Linked DNA regions of Homo sapiens: region 1 is linked to region 2. Evidence: promoter capture Hi-C in 16 types of primary human blood cells and fetal thymus (Javierre and others, 2016). All regions are on one chromosome and are shown on one strand. Each heading gives the region's core, a stretch centred on a gene start or on the middle of the fragment in contact. The rest is flanking DNA. Distances are from core to core; before and after follow the strand shown.

What was found. Contacts are between HindIII fragments. The CHiCAGO score rates a contact against its expected background, and 5 or more counts as called.
Region 1: a contact is called between a fragment that was not itself captured here and the fragment with the promoter of ASIC1 in region 2, in 1 of 17 cell types (M0 macrophages). The highest score is 5.5, in M0 macrophages.

What each region holds. Positions count from the first base shown.
Region 1 is chr12:49,759,121-49,765,231 of GRCh38, forward strand. TMBIM6 (transmembrane BAX inhibitor motif containing 6) reads left to right here. Exons shown (of 10, transcript NM_003217.3): 8 at 101-201; 9 at 2,584-2,659; 10 at 3,753-5,814. The coding sequence ends at 3,776. Among named protein-coding and RNA genes, the nearest start is that of TMBIM6, 21 kb to the left of the region's middle. The HindIII fragment of the contact is 996 bases long and covers 2,889-3,884 here.
Region 2 is chr12:50,052,339-50,059,129 of GRCh38, forward strand. ASIC1 (acid sensing ion channel subunit 1) reads left to right here and starts at 5,258. Exons shown (of 12, transcript NM_001095.4): 1 at 5,258-5,578; 2 at 6,413-6,790. The coding sequence starts at 6,429. RefSeq lists silencers at 5,061-5,220, 5,291-5,460. The HindIII fragment of the contact is 9,166 bases long and covers 1-6,178 here.

The DNA.
Region 1 (6,111 bases), core at 2,137-4,636, 300 kb before region 2:
TTTGATGTACTTTCAAGTGACTATGAGCCAGAAAGTATGGCTGGTTTTTTTTTCTCTGCAACTTCTGCTGTATAGTAACTTCATCTCTTACATTTGTTAGGCAAACCTGTATGTGGGACTGGTGGTCATGTGTGGCTTCGTCCTTTTTGATACTCAACTCATTATTGAAAAGGCCGAACATGGAGATCAAGATTATATCTGGTGAGTGTGGGAACTAGTCTTTAACAAGCATGAAGGTTGAGGCATACCGTTCAGCAGCTGAACTTAGGTTGGCATTGGCTGAACATAGGTGGCCAAGCTTTGGGAGTGTATGTGGTAGGAAACCCACGGTTTTGGAACTGTGTACCATAATCTTCCTCAATTCCTGAAAGATTTCAGATTTTTTAAAAATCTGGGCTAATAGGCCAGGTGTGGTGGCTCACACCTATAATCCTAGCACTTTGGGAGGCTGAGGCCACTGGATCGCTTGAGCTCAGAAGTTTGAGACCAGCCTGGGCAACATGGCGAAATCCCATCTCTACTAAAAATATAAAAAAATTAGCTGGGCATGGTGGCACATGTATATAATCCCAGCTACTCAGGAGGCTAAGGTATAAGAATCATTTGAACCTAGGAGGTGGAGGTTGAAGTGAGCCAAGATTGCACCACTGCACTCCAGCCTGGCAACAGAGCGAGACCCTGTCTCAAAAAAAAAAAAAAAAAAGTGTGGGGGCCGGGCACGGTGGCTCACGCCTGTAATCCCAGCACTTTGGGAGGTCGGGGCAGGCGGATCACGAGGTCAGGAGATCGAAACCATCCTGGCTAACACGGTGAAACCCTGTCTCTACTAAAAATACAAAAAATTAGTCGGGCGTGGTGGCGGGCACCTGTAGTCCCAGCTACTCAGGAGGCGGAGGCAGGAGAATGGTGTGAACCGGGGAGGCGGAGCTTGCAGTGAGCGGAGATTGCACCACTGCACTCCAGCCTGGACGACAGAGCGAGACTCCTTCTCAAAAAAAAAAAAAAAAAAAGTGTTGGGGGGTGGCTATATATTTACATATCCATAGTGGCTACCTCCAAGCAGAAGTGAGGGAAAGAGATCTTTCTCCTTTTCCTATTTATACTTCTGTATTTTTTAAACAATGAGTAGAAGATACACTCTTTTTTTAGAGACAGGGTCTCGCTCTGTTGCCTAGGCAGTAGTGTGGTGCCATGAACACAGCTCGCTGCAGCCTGAATTTACTGTGCTCAAGCAGTACTCCTGCCTCAGCCTCTTGAGTAGCTGGGACAACAGGCACGTGCGACCATGCCAGGCTAATTTATTTTTTGTAGAGATGGGGTCTTACCATATGCCCAGATTGGTCTCAAGCAGTCCTCTTGCCTTGGTTTCCCAAAGTGTTGGGATTACAGGCTTAAGCCACCATGCCCAGCCACTTTTTTTTTTTTTTTTTTTTTTTGAGACAGTTTTGCTTTGTCACCCAGGCTGGAGTGCGGTGGCAACATCTCAGCTCACTGCAACCTCCGCCTCCTGGGTTCAAGCGATTCTTGTGCCTCAGCCTCCCTAGTAGCTGGGATTACAGGCACTCTCCACCACGTCCAGCTAATTTCTGTAATTTTAGTAGAACGAGGTTTTGCCACGTTGCCCCGTGAGGACATGGTGTCGAACTCTTGGCCTCAAGCAATCTGCCTTCCTCAGCCTCCCAAAGTGGTGGGATTACAGACATGGGCCACCATGCCCAGCTCACTTTTTTTTTTTTGAGACGGAGTTTCGCTCTTGTTGCCCAGGCTGGAGTGCAACGGTGTGATCTTGGCTCACCGCAGCCTCCGTCTCCCGGCTTCAGGTGTTTCTCCTGCCTTAACATCCTGAGTAGCTGGGATTACAGGCATGCACCACCATGCCCGGCTAATTTTGTATTTTTAGTAGAGATGGGGTTTCTCCATGTTGGTCAGGCTGGTCTCAAACTCCTGACTCAGGTGATGCCCGCCTCAGCCTTCCAAAGTGCTGGGATTACAGGTGTGAGCCACTGTGCTCGGCACTTTTTTTTTAATGTAGTGATTCTCTCAGTCTCATGACTAATTAGTGGTAGTTAAGGGTTCAGACTTGGACCTCTGCAGAGTTCAGAGCGCTTGAGACAGGGCTTGCTCTGTCACCCAAGCTGCAGTAGGAGAGTGGCACTGTCATGGCTTACTGTAGACTCAAGCTCCCTGGGCTCAGGTGTTCCTCCCATCTCAGCCTCCTCAGTAGCTGGGATTACAGGCACATGCCACAATGCCCTGCTAATTTTTGTAGAGACGGGATTTTGCTATGTTACCCAGGTTGGTCTCGAACTCCTGGGCTCAAGCAGTCCACCTGCCTCAGCCTCCCAAAATGTTGGGATTACAGGCATGAGCCACTGTGCCTGGCCCAGTCTCTTTTCTCTATGCTGCATGACTTCGATGAGTCTAAAGGATCTCAGACACCAGAGTTTTACTTCCTTAGTTGGGGGTAAAGTGTGGGAGAAGCTGGCTCGTGGGGGTAGGGGTGGGGTTTATATTCTGCATCTTTGTGGGCTTGTGGATAAAAAAGTCTGAAGTACAGATCCTAATCTGGTTCTTGCCTTTCAGGCACTGCATTGATCTCTTCTTAGATTTCATTACTGTCTTCAGAAAACTCATGATGATCCTGGCCATGAATGAAAAGGTTAGTTAGCCTACAACCCAAAGATGAGACAATAATGGCTCCTGAGCTTGGCATGTGTGTATACTTCAGATTTGAAAACTTGCTCACACACTGTGTTAGGTCCAGGGTAACTGTAAGGCAGGCCACTGAGTAAGAGGTAAGCCAGAAGTCTTCAGTTGTTAGAAAAAAAGCAGCAAGTGAAAAAAAAATTTTTTTAACTAATTCCTGCGTTTAGTATGAAAGGGAAAAAAGCTTCAGTGGCAGTAAACACAACCTGCTACATGAATAATTTAAAGGCTATATAGTTGTGACTCAGAGAAAGGTATTGTGGAGGACGTTGTAAATTTCAGAAGTAGACTAATTTTATCCATTTGTTAATTTTTTTTTCCAAGGAAGCATTCTATATAGGGCTAATGAGTATCTAACGTAGTTGAGTCAAGCAGTGGGGGAAACAAATGAAATGAGCTTTTCTTTATAGACCTTATGGAGCTTAGAGATAGCATAGTGGTAGCGGGAGTAGTTGACCAGATAGGATTGCTGGCTCTGTCTGGGCTATGCCATGGTTGGACTGAGCACTAGGCAGATGTACAAGTTTCAGAACAAGCAACTGAATTTTCATTCCTTAATACATTGGGCTTCCATCCAAGATTGAATGAAGAATTCTGCTGGACCAAATTATTTCTGAATGTCAGTTTATGCCAGAGTCATGCTCACTTTGCAGGGTGGAGCACTTCTCGCGCCTAATGGTTGGTTGGTGGTCTTGGCCTCTAGTTTCACTCTTTGAGGATAGAGTGCCATCTGCAGCCTTCACTGTTGGGATCTGAGCTGTAGTGGCTGTGAATAGCCTAGAGTGGTCAGGCAGCCCACCTCGGCACTCCTGGGGTGGGGGTGGGGACAGCTGCTTAACCTTTATTCTTGGTCGGTCTGTCGGCAACTTTGGGAACCACCAGTAGGATGTGGTTAAGATTCAGTTCTTGCTGAGCTAAGGAAGCATTTCTCATTTCTTTTTAATTGTCTGGCTCACTTCTAGTCCCTAACTAAATGCTCACTCAAGAGTTTTAGCTTGAATGTCAAATGTCAAAAAATTAATTGGGTGATTTTTCTCCATTTCTAGGATAAGAAGAAAGAGAAGAAATGAAGTGACCATCCAGCCTTTCCCAATTAGACTTCCTCTCCTTCCACCCCTCATTTCCTTTTTGCACACATTACAGGTGGTGTGTTCTGTGATAATGAAAAGCATCAGAAAAGCTTTTGTACTTTGTGGTTTCCTCTATTTTGAATTTTTTGATCAAAAAACTGATTAGCAGAATATAGTTTGGAGTTTGGCTTCATCTTCCTGGGGTTCCCCTCACTCCCTTTTTTGTCAACCCCATCTGTAGCCTCTTCCTCTACTCAGGCAGTCGACCCGCCACGATGAGAAGTGGGACCAGCAGAGGGCGCCAACTTCAGGAGTCCGCTTTCCCACCAGGCTTCATTCACCCAGTGGACCTGAACTGTTTGGTAGAGCCACCCGGCCCTTCCTTCCTCATTGTTGTTTGGTATGCGCACAGTTCCTGTGGGACTGGGCCGTGAGTTTTCCATTGGAAAGAAGTTCAGTGGTCCCATTGTTAACTCAGCCTCAAATCTCAACTGTCAGGCCCTACAAAGAAAATGGAGAGCCTCTTCTGGTGGATGCTTTGCTCCCTCTGAGCTGCCCATGCTGGTCTGGCAAACACACCTTTCTGCTTTGCCTTCACAAAAGTAATGTGTTCCCTTTCCCACCCCTTGCCTGACCCTCAGGGAGTCAGCCTGCTTCCATCCATGGGTGGGAAGACTTCAGCACAAAGGAAAGACTAATTCTTGTCAGGCATTTTTGAAAAGGCTGATTATGTGTATCAAGGTACAGCATCGTAGGGTTCCCCTAAACTTGCCCTGTTTTTGTTTTTTTAGTTTGTTATCCCCTTACTGAGCGGCCTCTACTAGGTGGCTGTGATTAAATGTCCCAAGCAAGGATAGGGAAGGGGAATGGTTGAGCCTCTGGAGATCATTGTAACCAATCCTGCCAGACCTGTTTGGGGCAGTGGGGAGCAAACCTAGATAAGGACCTGTTTGGGGCAGCAGGGAGCAAAATCTCCTTTAACAACCAAGCAGTTCCTCATTCACATCAACAGAGCGAGGCTGTGATAACTTAGGAGGCAGCAATCCTAATAGTCCTTCAGTGCATTTTAGTCTGTCTCCAACTGGACACCAGTAGGTAGTGTCAAGCCAGAGATTCGGGGCAGTAGATAAATGTTCATTTTACTGATGCACTTTAGTTTTTGGTCTGTTACCTGTTTTCCAGAAATTTGTGGCCTTTTAGGCGGGAGTTAGGCGACCAAACCAGTGAGAGCCCCAATCCCTGCAGTTTTGTGGCTTCAAGTGTGGGTGGACAGTCCTAATGGGGATCTCCAGCTCCTTCCTGTGGGCTGCCACAGACAGCTACCCCCAGAAGGGTCAATGTTGGGAGTGGTTGTGGCTCTGAGCTGCTCTACAGAGCTTCAGTGTGAGAGGATCGAGCCATTGAAAGCTCATTACCAGTAGGACATAATTTTTGGCTCTCCCTATTCACAACCAGTGCACAGTTTGACACAGTGGCCTCAGGTTCACAGTGCACCATGTCACTGTGCTATCCTACGAAATCATTTGTTTCTAAGTTGTGTTTATTCCTGGAGTGACATGCCACCCCGAATGGCTCACTTTCACTGAGGATGCTGTCCTCTGATTTAGCTGCTGCCTCCAGCCTCTGGCTTGAGAACTTACTAAAGGCACTTCCTTCCTGTTAAACCCCTGTTAACTCTCCATAAATTTGGTGATTCTCTGCTAGGCCTAAGATTTTGAGTTAACATCTCTTGAAGCCAAACTCCACCTTCTGTGCTTTTTGCTTGGGATAATGGAGTTTTTCTTTAGAAACAGTGCCAAGAATGACAAGATATTAAAAAAAAAAAAGAAAGAAAAAAAAAAAAACACCTACTTTTAAAGAAAATACCTAACAGATTTTTAATATAGTTATCTCTACCACTTTCTTTTCTAGTTTCTTGATTTTCAGCTCAGGCTGCATTCTAACTCATACTGTGAAGACAAAGGTGTTTTTGATTCAGAAATATATGAAATCTGCATAGTCTTAATTTGTAAAAAATAAAGAAAATTCCTTAACCTTTCCTGGTGTTTGTGTTAAATTCAAGGGTACAGCTGGTCATGGAGCTTGTGATACTGCCAGGGTTTGCTACTGGGGGCTGGGAGTGGGACACGATTGAGTTCGTGTCATAAGTATGAACAGAGACAAAGACCTCCCACTCTGTAGCCCCAGCATGCCACAAATGTTGAGAATTTTCTCTGTCAAATATGTAAGCCAGTTTTTTTTCCAGTCCTCTCCACCCCCTGCCACCTTTGCTATATGTTGTTTGTGGTGATATGTGCAGTTGGTTCAGATGTGCAGCCAAGCTTTGGAGTTTGAG
Region 2 (6,791 bases), core at 4,008-6,507:
GGTCCTGGATGTGCAGACAAACTGCTGAGACCCAGACAGAGGCAGCAGTATGGGGAGAGAGCCCCCCAGAGATGCACTGGCACAAGAAAGAGAGCCTGAGACACCGAGAGAGCCAGGAATGAGAGGTGCTGGGGAACGGTGAGGACCAGAGATCACTCCTTCAGGATTGCAGAGGCAGACACCTGCCTGACAGGCAACCTGGAACCCATGGACTCCTGTAGCAGATACAGAGCCCCATGTTCATGAACCAGTGGACAGGCACATTTGTTGAGACCCATATTCAAGTTGGAGAGGGAAAGGTGATGAATAGGAGAGGGAGAAGAGATGGGGAGTGAAGAGGGGGCTAGATTAGAAGGAGGAAGTGGGGAGGAGGAAAGGGTGAGTCCTAGAAGGATGGAGAAGACAGAGACTTGAGTGGGAAAAGGGAGAAAAGCTGAGTGGAGGAGGAGAGAAGAGATTAGAGAGAGGAATGAGAGAAAAGAGACAGGATAGCATAAGGTGGGGGAGAAAGGGTGAGGATAGCAGGTAAGTGTGGGAGTGGGGTAAGAGGAGTGTTTGGACTAGTAAAAAGAGAAAGCAGTGGAAAAGATGAGGGTTATGGGTTGGCAGGTGGTGGGGGGACAACGTTGAGTATGGAGGGTGGGGAGGCTGTGTTGCTGGGTCCCATCAGCCTTAGGTCCCCAGCCCCTTCCCAGTGCGTGCTAATTAACTCCTTAATTGTCTCTGCATTTGCTGAGCCGGCAGATGAAGTGGATGCAGACAGATTGGGGCGCGTGTGATTTCATGCACGGGGGAGCGGAGAAGAGCTGCCTGGAAATCCCAGGGGGTCTTGTCCCCCTCTTTACCCTCCCTCTTCACCCATCTCTGAGAGGCTGGAGGGCGCTTCTGCACCTAAAGCAGATGGGGCCATCTGCAAGGGAAGCATCCATGGGGAATTTGCCCCCATCAGCCTTTCAGGGATGATCATAATGCTTGCCACTATTGATGGAACACCCCCTACTGTTTGCTAGACACACATTGTTTCAACAGCATGGGCATTAGCTGGGTTTTATGGTTTCTGGAGAAAAGTGAGACTCAGGCTAGGTTACTTGCCCAGGGCCACACAGCACTGGTGTGACAGAGCTGAGATTTGAACCTAGGTGAGCACAAGGCCAAAGTCCTAAGTGGGCCCTGGCTAGATGCCTCCTGCCAGCAGAAGGAGAAATATCTTCAGGCCTGTTTCCCTCTCAGTCCGTGGTGGGGATAAAGGGTACTGAGGTCTAAGGACTGCAGGGTCCAGAGAAAACGAAGCATGGAGAAGAAGCTGGGAGGATGCTGAAGGAGCCAGTATCCTCTGTCAGGACTTGGACAAGGGGTGGGTGGGCCAGAGAAGCAGAAAGAAGTAATGAGACACTAATCACAGCCCTTGGATCCCTCAAGTGTTATCTTACTAAGGCCCTGCCAACACCAACTTCCTCTTTTCCTCATCCTTGTCCCACAAACCCCTGTCAGAGTGACTGCCCCCCTGCCTCTCTCTGCTGGCAGCCCTGGCTCAGCCTTCTATTTCACTCCTGGCCCTTGCACTAGAGTCACAAGTCAACATGTTTGTCTCTCTTTCCACACTGGGATATTTTGAGGCAAGGACTCTGCCAATCCTCACCATGTCCACAGGGCCAATCTTGGGGCTTGATCCAGGAAAACCCTCGGTGAAGGTTTGCTGCGATGTACAGGGTAGGGATGAGGGGATGTGTGTGTGCAAGGACCCATCACTTCTCAAACGAAGAAGAAACAACAGCATGAGGGATTTAGGTTGTATATAAGAAAGAACTTCCTAAGACTGGGGCCTGTGACACTATGAAACCATAATTCAGACCCATAAGTTCTGAAGAGCAAGGTTGCTCAAGATTGGCTATATGTTAAAGGCCTCAAAAAGTTGGGCGATTGTCCGGGCGCAGTGGCTCATGCCTGTAATCCCAGCACTTTGGGAGGCCAAGGTGGGTGGATCACCTGAGGTCGGGAGTTCAAGCCTACATGGTGAAACCCCCAGCTCTACAAAAGATACAAAAAATTAGCCGGGCGTCGTGGTGTGCGCCTGTAATCCCAGCTACTCGGGAGGCTGAGGCAGAAGAACCTCTTGAACCGGGGAGGCGGAGGTTGCAGTGAGCCGAGATTGTGCCATTGCACTCCAGCCTGGGCGACAGGGTGAGACCCCAACTTAAAAAAAAAAAAAAAAAAAAAGGCCGGGTATGGTGGCTCACGCCTATAATCCCAGCACTTTGGGAGGCTGAGACGGGTGGATCACAAGGTCAGGAGATTGAGACCATCCTGGCTAACACGGTGAAACCCCGTCTCTACTAAAAATACAAAAAACTTTGCCAGGTGTAGTGGCGGGTGCCTGTAGTCCCAGCTACTTGGGAGGCTGAGGCAGGAGAATGGCGTGAACCCAGGAGACTGAGCTTGCAGTGAGCCAAGATCGCGCCACAGCCCCAGAGATTCTGATTTAACTGGTCTAAAGTGGAGCCATGGCATTGCAGTTTTTTTTTTTTTTTTCTGAGACAGAGTCTCGCTCTGTTGCCCAGGCTAGAGTGCAGTGGCACGATCTCCGATCACTGCAACCTCTGTCTCCCGGGTTCAAGCACTTCTGCCTCAGCCTCCTGAGTAGCTGGGATTACAGGTGCGTGCCACCACGCCTGGCTAATTTTTGTATTTTCTGTGGAGGCAGGGTTTCACCATGTTGGCCAGGTTGGTCTCCTGACCTCAGGTGATCCACTCACCTCGGCCTCCCAAAGTGCTGGGATTGCAGGCGTGAGCCACCACGCCTGGCTGGCATTGCAGTTTTATCTTATTATTTTTATTTTTTGAAATGGAGTTTCGCTCTTGTCTCCCCGGCTAGAGTGCAATAGCACAATCTCGGCTCACTGCAACCTCCGCCTCCCAGGTTCAAATGATTCTCCTGCCTCAGCCTCTCGAGTAGCTGGGATTACAGGTGCCCGCCACCACGCCCAGCTACTTTTTGTATTTTTAGTAGAGATGGGTTTCACCATGTTGGCCAGGTTGGTCTCAAACTCCTGACCTCAGGCGATCCACCCTCCTCTGCCTCCCAAAGTGCTGGGATTACAGGAGTGAGCCACCGCGCCCAGCTGGCATTGCAGTTTTAAAAGCTCCCCAGGTGATTCGAATGTGCAGCCTGGGTTAAGAACCAGTGCCTTAGATTCTGCCCTGGTTTGGCTGCACTGGTGGTTTTACCACTAGATCCAAATGCTAATACTAATAATAGTTATTTACTTATTGGGATTTACTAGGTACATGCCAATGTACTAAGCACTTTCCATGCGTTAGCTCATGTAATCCTCGAAAAATCCTGTGAAATAAATATTATCTCTGCCTTACAGATGAGGAAACCGAGGTCCAGAGAGGTCAAGGGGCCTGCCTATGCTAATGAATGGCAGGGCCAGGTCTGGAAGCTGATTCTCCTGATTCATACCTTCTGTCTTCCCCCAGACTCCTCCTGAGGCTGCTCCTTGGCCTCAATCAGTCCTCGCCTGCCTCCACCTCACCTCATCACCTTCCCTCCACCCCCGCTGCTCCCTCAGTAACATCCCAGGTGACTGAAGCAATTGCAGCCATTTGAAGAGGCTCCACGTGTCAGTCAGCCTGCGAGCCGCGGGGAGGTGGGGAAATTACAGATGCTCCAAAATAGTGTTCCCCTCCCCCTGAGGATATTTGGAATTCAGGAATCAGACTCTGCCTGATGCTTCCTCAGGTCTCTGGGACCCTCCCAGGTGATTTCCCACTCTCAAATGCCCCCCACGAGTTGATTCTAAGTATCTGGGAGAGGGCTGCCACCCAGTGGCTGCCCGGGGGCATAGCAACCCTCCAGCACTGCCTGGTACCGCTGAACAGCTCCCCAAGACCTGAATGGAAGATCCTCCCTTCCTTTTGGCAGCTCCGTGTCCAGTCCCCTAGTAAATGGATCTCGACCTCCCTCCTCCACAATCTTAAGTCCACTCTCCCACTAGGGACCTCCAGACCCCTTCTCTGGTTTCCTAGATGTCCACTACTCCCAACTTCTCATCCAACTTCTTTCCAATGTGCCATCCCCTTCTCGTTACAGGTTTTCTTCTAACTTAAAGCCCGGCACCATGTCCTAGGAATACACCTCTCACCATCCTTCTCCCCGAGCCGCACCAGCCTGCAAGTAGAGCGAAGGAGCCACTAGAGACAGAACTCTGGTCCCCCGCACCCTCCTCCTCATCATCTGACACCATCAGACCTCAACAGCCTCTGTGCTAAGAGCCCCTAATGAGCATCAGCAAATTAACAACTTCCCCTTGATTGCTCCTTCTCTGTTAATTGGATAGGGAGGGCCCCCCTCCCCAAGGCCTCTCAGAGAAGAGGAGGGAGGCAGGGAAGGAGAAAGGTGAGAGCCACAGGAGCAGCCCCCAGGCCTGCGTTCTGTGCTGAGACTTCTGCTCCATCCCTGAGCATAGCTCCCCGTTCCAACCCTTCCTCACCCTGTCCCCTTCACTCCCTTTGCCTCCTTCCTTCTGTCCAAATTCCCTTGACCTCTGGCTATTTTTCCTTCCTTTTCTCTGCTCCTTCTTTGGAGATTTGGCAGTAAGGGGTTGCGACCATGCCCCCCACAAGCCCAAAGCTACAAGGATGGGATCTGAGTGGTCAAGGCTGCGTGTTGGCTCACATATGTGCACGTGTATATGTGTCACATGCAGGTGGGAGCAGGGATAAGAGCAGGTGAGTGCTTGCCATGTGGGTCAGGCCCCCGGGATACGTGGACATCTGTTGCGGGGGGGTGTGGTTGTGAATGGTGTGGTGTGACTCTGGTCGGTATGTGTGTCTGTCTCCATATGGGCTAAGTGCTTGAATTAGTCAAGTGTGACTCGGAGCGTGTGTGTGTATGTGTGTGTGTACGCGCGTGTGTGCCACCAGAGGAAGCAGCAGCAAGAGGCAGGAGCATCGATCCGAAGGAGACAGCGCGGGGAGAGGGACGCTAGGGGCAGACACCCTCCCTCCTGCGCGCACACACGCGCGCGCGCACACACACCACACACAGAGTCATACACACAAGCCATAGGGCCTCGCAGGCAGGGAGACGGCTCCGGGACTGGAGAGAGGCAGCGCCGCCGAAAGCGGCCGCGAGGAGGGGCGAGGCGGCGCGGGGAGCCCTGGGTCCCGCTCCCGGATCCGGGGCCCCGCGCGCACACCAGCCCAGAGACAGCCTCGCAGACACTCGTAGGCGCGCACGCGCACCCTCTCCCCTCCCCCTCCCCTCCCGCCGCCTCCCGGCCGGACGATGGATCCCTGCAGATCCCAGGGCTGAGAGCACCGCGCACCGCGCCGAGCCCGGGCAGACCGAGCCGAGGCGAGCGAGCCAGCGAGCCAGCGCGCGCGGGCGGGCGGACAGATCGGAGCCGAGCGGGGCCGGGCGGGGCGCTCCCTGCAGGGCTCTGCGCGGCGTGCCGCGGCGGCCGCGGGCTCCGGCCCCGGGCCATGAGCCCCTCCGCGACTCGGCGCTGAGCCCGCCACCGGTCCAGCGCCCCAGGACCCGCCGCCGGCTGCCGGCTTGCCGAAGCCCCCTCAGGTGGGTTTCCGATACCCCTGCCTTTGGCCGCGAGGCTCCTCGGTACCCCGAAGCCGGGACTCTCCTCCCTCTGGATTTCCCTTGCTGCTGGGGCGGCTCGGTGGCTGGGGAGGGGGGCGGGGGCCGAGCTGGGGATCTGACTGCGACGAGAAGCTGGACTGGGGGGGGCTGCGTCCGGGGCGGGGACAGCTCGCTGTCATAGGGAACCGCGCCCCCCCTCCATACATCCACCTCGGGCAGCCCGCCACCCCCCACTCCCAACATACACACAGCCTGCGCTTATGTGAGAACTGGAGACACCCGCAGGTGAGGACTCAGGCTGGGCCCCTCCCTAGATGTAGCCACCTCCCTGGGGGTTTTCTGGCCCCAGTTTAGCCCTTAGGACCACAGCCCCGTCCAGGGAATACCCGTGACCAGGACAGGAGCTCCTTACCCCGGGGTCAGCCCATCTGGGTGAGTTTTCATCTCCAGGATGGGGTGGATATTCTTGTCCCAGAGTGACCCCACATCTGGAGGGAACTCCTGCGCCTGCCTATGGGTGCATCAGGACTTCCCCCTCAACCTCGGATGACTATATCTGGGGTCTCCCCGGGCCTGGGAAGCTTCTCTGGGGAGCATTCTCTTGGCCTGACCTGACCCCCTGTGCCTCTGTATTTGGAGGAACCCTGGATGTGTCCCTTGGTCAGCCACCTCTGGGCTTGCAAAGCAGGGAAGTCTTCTGCCCGAGGAGTGGTGACCTCTGGAGATGAGGATTCTGGATGGGCACATGTGGAGGGGCTCCATGTGTACTTTCATCCCAGGACAATGATAGACTGTCCCTCCCTCCTCCCCCAGGATCCCCTCAACAAGGATGGAACTGAAGGCCGAGGAGGAGGAGGTGGGTGGCGTCCAGCCGGTGAGCATCCAGGCCTTCGCCAGCAGCTCCACACTGCACGGCCTGGCCCACATCTTCTCCTACGAGCGGCTGTCTCTGAAGCGGGCACTGTGGGCCCTGTGCTTCCTGGGCTCCCTGGCTGTGCTGCTGTGTGTGTGCACGGAGCGTGTGCAGTACTACTTCCACTACCACCATGTCACCAAGCTCGACGAGGTGGCTGCCTCTCAGCTTACCTTCCCTGCTGTCACGCTGTGCAACCTCAACGAGTTCCGCTTTAGCCAAGTCTCCAAGAATGACCTGTATCATGCTGGGGAGCTGCTGGCCCTGCTCAACAACAGG